Regions from separate parts of the Homo sapiens genome. Here region 2 is linked to region 1. The links are contacts of gene promoters, found by promoter capture Hi-C in human tissues and cell types (Jung and others, 2019). All regions are on one chromosome and are shown on one strand. The core of a region is centred on a gene start or on the middle of the fragment in contact, and the rest is flanking DNA. Distances in the headings are between cores, read along the strand shown. Region 1 holds the start of KHDRBS3 (KH RNA binding domain containing, signal transduction associated 3). Region 2 overlaps LINC02055 (long intergenic non-protein coding RNA 2055).

Evidence for each region. The method cuts DNA at HindIII sites, captures the fragments that hold promoters and counts their contacts. A contact is called where the count stands out against the background at its distance.
Region 2: a contact is called between a fragment that was not itself captured here and the fragment with the promoter of KHDRBS3 in region 1, in 1 of the 25 tissues and cell types used here (lymphoblastoid cells).

The regions. Positions count from the first base shown.
Region 1 is chr8:135,456,078-135,458,777 of GRCh38, reverse strand. It overlaps KHDRBS3 (KH RNA binding domain containing, signal transduction associated 3), which reads right to left and starts at 1,322. Exons shown (of 9, transcript NM_006558.3): 1 at 824-1,322. The coding sequence starts at 911. LOC101927872 (a long non-coding RNA gene) reads left to right here and starts at 803. Exons shown (of 4, transcript XR_002956731.2): 1 at 803-896. RefSeq lists a silencer at 1,151-1,450. The HindIII fragment of the contact is 4,912 bases long and covers 1-2,700 here.
Region 2 is chr8:136,757,518-136,760,217 of GRCh38, reverse strand. All of the region lies in intron 2 of LINC02055 (long intergenic non-protein coding RNA 2055), which reads right to left. Among named protein-coding and RNA genes, the nearest start is that of LINC02055, 230 kb to the right of the region's middle. The HindIII fragment of the contact is 4,067 bases long and covers 1-2,700 here.

The sequences.
Region 1 (2,700 bases), core at 73-2,572:
CTGGCTGGAGTCGTGTGAAAATGGCAAGGACTCCCTTCACCACTATTCCGAACCTCAAGCCAGCCACCAATGAGGGTCACCCAACCCAACGCCCTCCGGAACGGTGCTCTTTTGCCGGCCTCTTCTCCCCTACTGACTTCTCCAAGGGCCAGCCTGCAAGGCTTGGCATGGGCTGCCCATCCCCTGGGAGGGCTGACTGCCCCGCCAGGGCTGTTGGAGCCTGGACACAGGAGAGACAAAGGGCTGGGAGGGGGAACTGGGCTCCTCCCCTGGGACCACGGAGCTCCTCTCCTCTCAGGTGCTGGGGTCTGACCCCAACCCTCTTCCAAGGTCCCCAAACTTCGCTAACAATGCAAGCACCTGTTCCCTTCACCTCTTCTGCATTTGAGTCCCTCAAGTCCTTCCATTTTCCTCCAGCTTTTTCTCCAGTACCTTAGACAAACCAAACGCCCTACTTCCCCGAGTCCAACACGCTCCCCTTCCATGACATAATTCAACCTCGTTCCCAACGAAGCCCCCAGATGGTCGCTGTCCCCCACCCAGAAGTTTCCCCTGGGTGTGCCCGAGTCCCCAAAGATTTCCTTCAAGTCTCACCCATGCGCCCCAGCCTTCTCCTTCCAAGTCCCCAAAATTCACATCAGGGTCTTCCCCTAGGTGTCCCACAGCCTCCCAGGTCCCCGTGCAAACGACCCCGGGGGCCACCCGGGCCTCCGTCTCCGCCGCGTCCGCTGACAGCAGAGGGCACGGAGGGGCCCCCTGGGCCCCCGCGTTTCCACCCGGCCCCCAACCGCCGCCGGCCGGCAGTTAACGGCCGGCGCCTCACCTTGGTTCACCAGGCGCAGGGCGTGCGTGAAGGAGGGGTCCAGGGAGTCCTTCTCCGCCATCAGCTCGGGCAGGTACTTCTCCTCCATGCTCGCCGGCCGCCGGGCCCGGGATGTGGACTCCAGGCGCACGGGGGGCGGCGCCCGGCAACCCCCGACCCCGCCCGCGCCCCCAGCGGCGGGGACCCGGGGGCCAGACGCGGCAGCAGCGGCCAAGCCGGGCGGTCGGCCGGAAGGCGGCGGCGGCGGCACGGGGGCGGGAACCGACCGCTCAGCCCCGATCCCCGGTGGCCGCCGAGTACCCAGCGCCGGCGGCCCCCGCGCTCCGGGCGCGGGCCGAGGAGGAGCGGGCGCGGGCGGCGCGGTTAGGCGGGCCCTCGGGCCGAGCGGGCTGCGGCGCCCCTGAGGCAGTCCACGGCGATCCCCGCCAGTCCCGCCAGCACCTGCCAGCACCCGAGCCACAGCTGCGACCTGCACGCCGCGCGCCGCCCCGCGCACTCTGAGCCACCGCGCCGAGCGCCCAGCGCCTGCCGCCGGCCCCGCCCCGCCCGGCTCCGCCCCGCCCCGCCCCGCGCCCGCCGCCCCGCCCTGCCGCGCCGCGCCTGCGCACTGGCGCCCACCGCCCCGCCGCCCGCCGCCTCCTGGGGCCGCTCTCCACTGCGAGTCCGCCGGGACTAACCGGGCGTTTGCGAGAGGGGGTGCGTCCAAGGGCCCCTCCCGCGTGTCCGGCGCCCACCTTTGGCCCTGAGGGCCGAGTGGGGAGCCCCACGACGCTATTACAGCCTTTCAGATGCACGGACTGGGAAACTGGGGCTCAGAGAAGTCAAGTGGCTCGCCCAAGGTCACCCAGCGAGTGATCCTGGGAAGAGGGGACAAGGGCCGAGCTGGAGCTGGGAAGGGCGCCCCAGTTCGCCCCAGTCGCGCTCTGAGGAATAGCAGCGGGACCGCCCTGCTCTCTAAAGCTTCCTGGACTTCTCTAAGTTATGTCGCGTTGCTGTCCCCTCGTACTTATAAGAGAGTAAGGCAGGGGCGCCGTCCTTTCTCCGCGCCTGAGCTCAGAGCGCCAACCTCCTGAGATCCGCCAGCTCAGAGGTCGGTTACATAAAAGCGCGTGCCCTTCTGGGCGTCTTTGTCATCCCGACTTGCTCCTGGGTTGTCATTCTCTTAGGTCATAAACCGGCTGTGCCTGGACACAGCTGAGTGAGCCGCGTCTGAGCTCATCCGCTCCTGGGGAGAGGCCCTGGGACGCCCCGCCTGTCGGTGGCAATGCTCTCTGTCCCCTTCCGCCCACCCCCAACCCCCAGCAAATGCTCTCCAAGGCCATTTCAGATTTCCCGAGGCATGTGGAATAAACGTCCCCCAGGAAGGCGAAGGACTCCAGTCCTTGCCCTGCCATTTTTCCTGCCTTCAAACAGCCAGCTCAAGTCCCGGCCTCAATGTCACCTTCCCTGGACAGCCTCTCAGGACCTCCCTGGCAAAGCAAGTCACAAGTCCCTTCTCTGTGTCCCCCCAGCTTGGTCAGAGGTCATTCACAGACAGCTGTAATTCTGTTTTCAGTAGACCATGAGCATCAGGGACAGAGTTTGAGTTTTGTTTTTGAGGGGGAAGGTCACCAGTGTGTAGTACAGGGGGCAGGGATGGAGGGTACTGGAAATGTCTCTTGGAGGAATAAGTCAGTGGCATACCACTCTCAGCCAATAGCCTGAGGACAATCGCCACAGTCCCCCAGGCAGCCCCCCCGCACTCCCAATGCAAATGGAGGCAGCTTTACAAACCCGAGGGGAGTGGGAGGTGGTAGAAATCTTGGAAGCTCTAAGTCCCAGACCCGAGTACTCAACTGCCCTCACTCTCAAGGCTCCACTCCTCCCCCGGCTAAGGT
Region 2 (2,700 bases), core at 24-2,523, 1.3 Mb before region 1:
AACCTTAATTCTTTCCTTAGAGGCCCTATCTCCAAATGTAATCACCATACACACTTTGGAGGAACACTAACATCCAGTCCATATCAGTAGAGAAGAAACTAATGTGAATTTATTTAATAAATAATCACTGCTAGCTTACTGTGTTCCAGACACTGTGCTAGCCATTGACATTAAAACACAGGCTCTGTCCTTACTTTCAATTTATAACTTAGTCCTGGAATAAGTTATCATTTACAGTGATAAAACTACACCATGTAAATTACGATTATTTGGTGGGAAACACCAGGAACAGACTTGCTGACTTGCTAGGTATATCAAGAAATGAACACACACACACACACACACGCATGCACGCACACACACACACAGAGAGTATATATTCTTCCTTAATAATATTGGAGAACACCAAATCAAAGCAGGGGTCTTTCATAGGAAATGCAACTACTCAACATTGTCATGAAGATACTATTGAATGAATAAACTCCAGTTAATTTTTTTCATTTGTGTCACTCTTTTCACAACTCAAATGTCCTACAGTTTAAGTAGGTCTTTCCAGCAATGATCCTTATGCTCACTCTGGATAGCTTGAATCACCCCACACACATATACTCACTCAGCCAGTGGCACTGTGCTGGGGATCAGTATCCTCCCACATGGATGGTGTCTTCCCCCCTGTGTAAAATCCCACTGGTCTCAAGACCGTCAGGTTCTGGGCAGCAGGCATTCACAGGCAACTCCTACAGTCAGACGACCCAGCTCCCCAGAAGTGTGGATGTGCCGTCACTGATAAGTCAGCTTTGGCATTTGCTTGGAAGAAGGGAGCATTGGTGTGGTGTGGGGAGTTGGGGTCCCACAGCACGTCCAGCAGAGCACCATGGCCCAAGCACACCTCTTCTGCAACAACTGGAGAGTGGGAGACCTGCATCCTCCATTCATCTGACCTTTATGATGTCTTCAACAATTCTATTTGTTAACCTGCCCAGAGGAAGTGAAATTTGAATGTGTGACTTCAATAACTAGCAGACTTCTTTTTCACTCAGTGAATCGGATACATTTAAAAAAAATCTGTTGTAATAAAATTATAGAACACTTAAAAGCCACAGCAAAATCCAGAAAAGATCCTTAAGAATTTCCTAACACAATGTACTCTTCAGCTTCTGTTTTTCCATGAATCTTGTCTGTTTGTTATGGTAGACAAACTAATTCCCCTCCAACTATCTTGTGGGAATATTTAAATAAATGTGAGCTTTGCTCTGTGGTCTCATGTATTGGGAAAGGTTATGTATTTTCCTTATGCCGCAGTGAGTCACCTGTGGTGTGGATGTGTGTGCATGTATTCCCTGTTTGAGGCTAGAAAGCTGGAACAAGTGACTTATTGGAGCTCTTCTCAGTTTTGAGTTTTATGATAATTGGCGATTGATGATCTTGCTTCTCATTTTTATTATGAAATACATCCCAGTTGCATTTTAAGTAAGCTCTACATACGTGGGAGTATTAGTAAAGAAGGAAACCTATCTTCATTTTGATCACTAGTGGATAAAAAGGTTAAAAAGAAGAATGATACAAAAAAATTAAGGAAGAAACAAGGTAGATAAACTCACTTGAGGTCACAAGTGAATGAGCAGCACCACCATTTTGCATAGTTTGTGATTCAATTCACACATACACACAAACATACACACACACACATACACACACACAAATTGTCTGAAATATAAATGTGTCAAATCACCAATTTTTATTTTATCAATTTATTGATTTATTAAACATTAAAGATTTATAAAGTTCACCAAAATTCTCATCCAATAGGATGATTTTAGTAACTTTCTATTGGTTTTGTTTGTATTGATGTTTGGTGATTCGTTTTTAGCTCATCTTTATACCAGAAGTTTAAGCAACAGATGATTTCTTGAAAGCCAATAGGTAAGTTTGCACTTTTATTATTACTTTAAAAAATGTCTACTATTTAGAAATGTACACTTAATCAGTAACCAAAATTACCGTCTGAGAATAGCATCCTATATCTGAAATCCCTTCACCATAAGTACGGTATGTGTGGGAAGGATTCTGAAAAGAAAACATAGAAAGTTAATAATTCAATTGTTAATACCTAAGAATTCTGGGTTAATCGGTGTGGGACTGAGTCAAAGGTAAAAATCACCTAAATATTAGCTATAAGTAGAAATGACATTTTCATAATTTGAGAGTATTCACAGAAGCTGAAACAATCCCATCACCAAAGAAAGTTTGAAATACAAAAACGACAAAGATAAACTGAAAAATTCAGGTTAATATGACTTTTGTGAAGTTGTTAAAAGATTATGAAAATAATTGATTTTAAAGAAAAATAAAATGCATGAAAATTGAAATTGACCTAAATAATCCAAACAGAAATAAGATCCTGAAATGTTGGTATCTGAGAGGGAATAATTCAGATAAATAAATTTGGCAGCAGTTTACAAAAAGACTCAATATGCTGAAATAAAACTATGCCATACAGCAGGAAGGAAAGATGGCTAGAATAAACTGCTATAATGGATATTGAGTATGGAGGTGGGCATTAATCATAAATATGAAAAAGTATAGGAATTACTAGGATTTTTTTTAAAAATCATAGAAATGAAGCAAAAATAGGAGCAACATCACAGCTTTCCAAATCTAAGCTTAATAAATTAGCCTAAAAAATACTGAAAAAATATT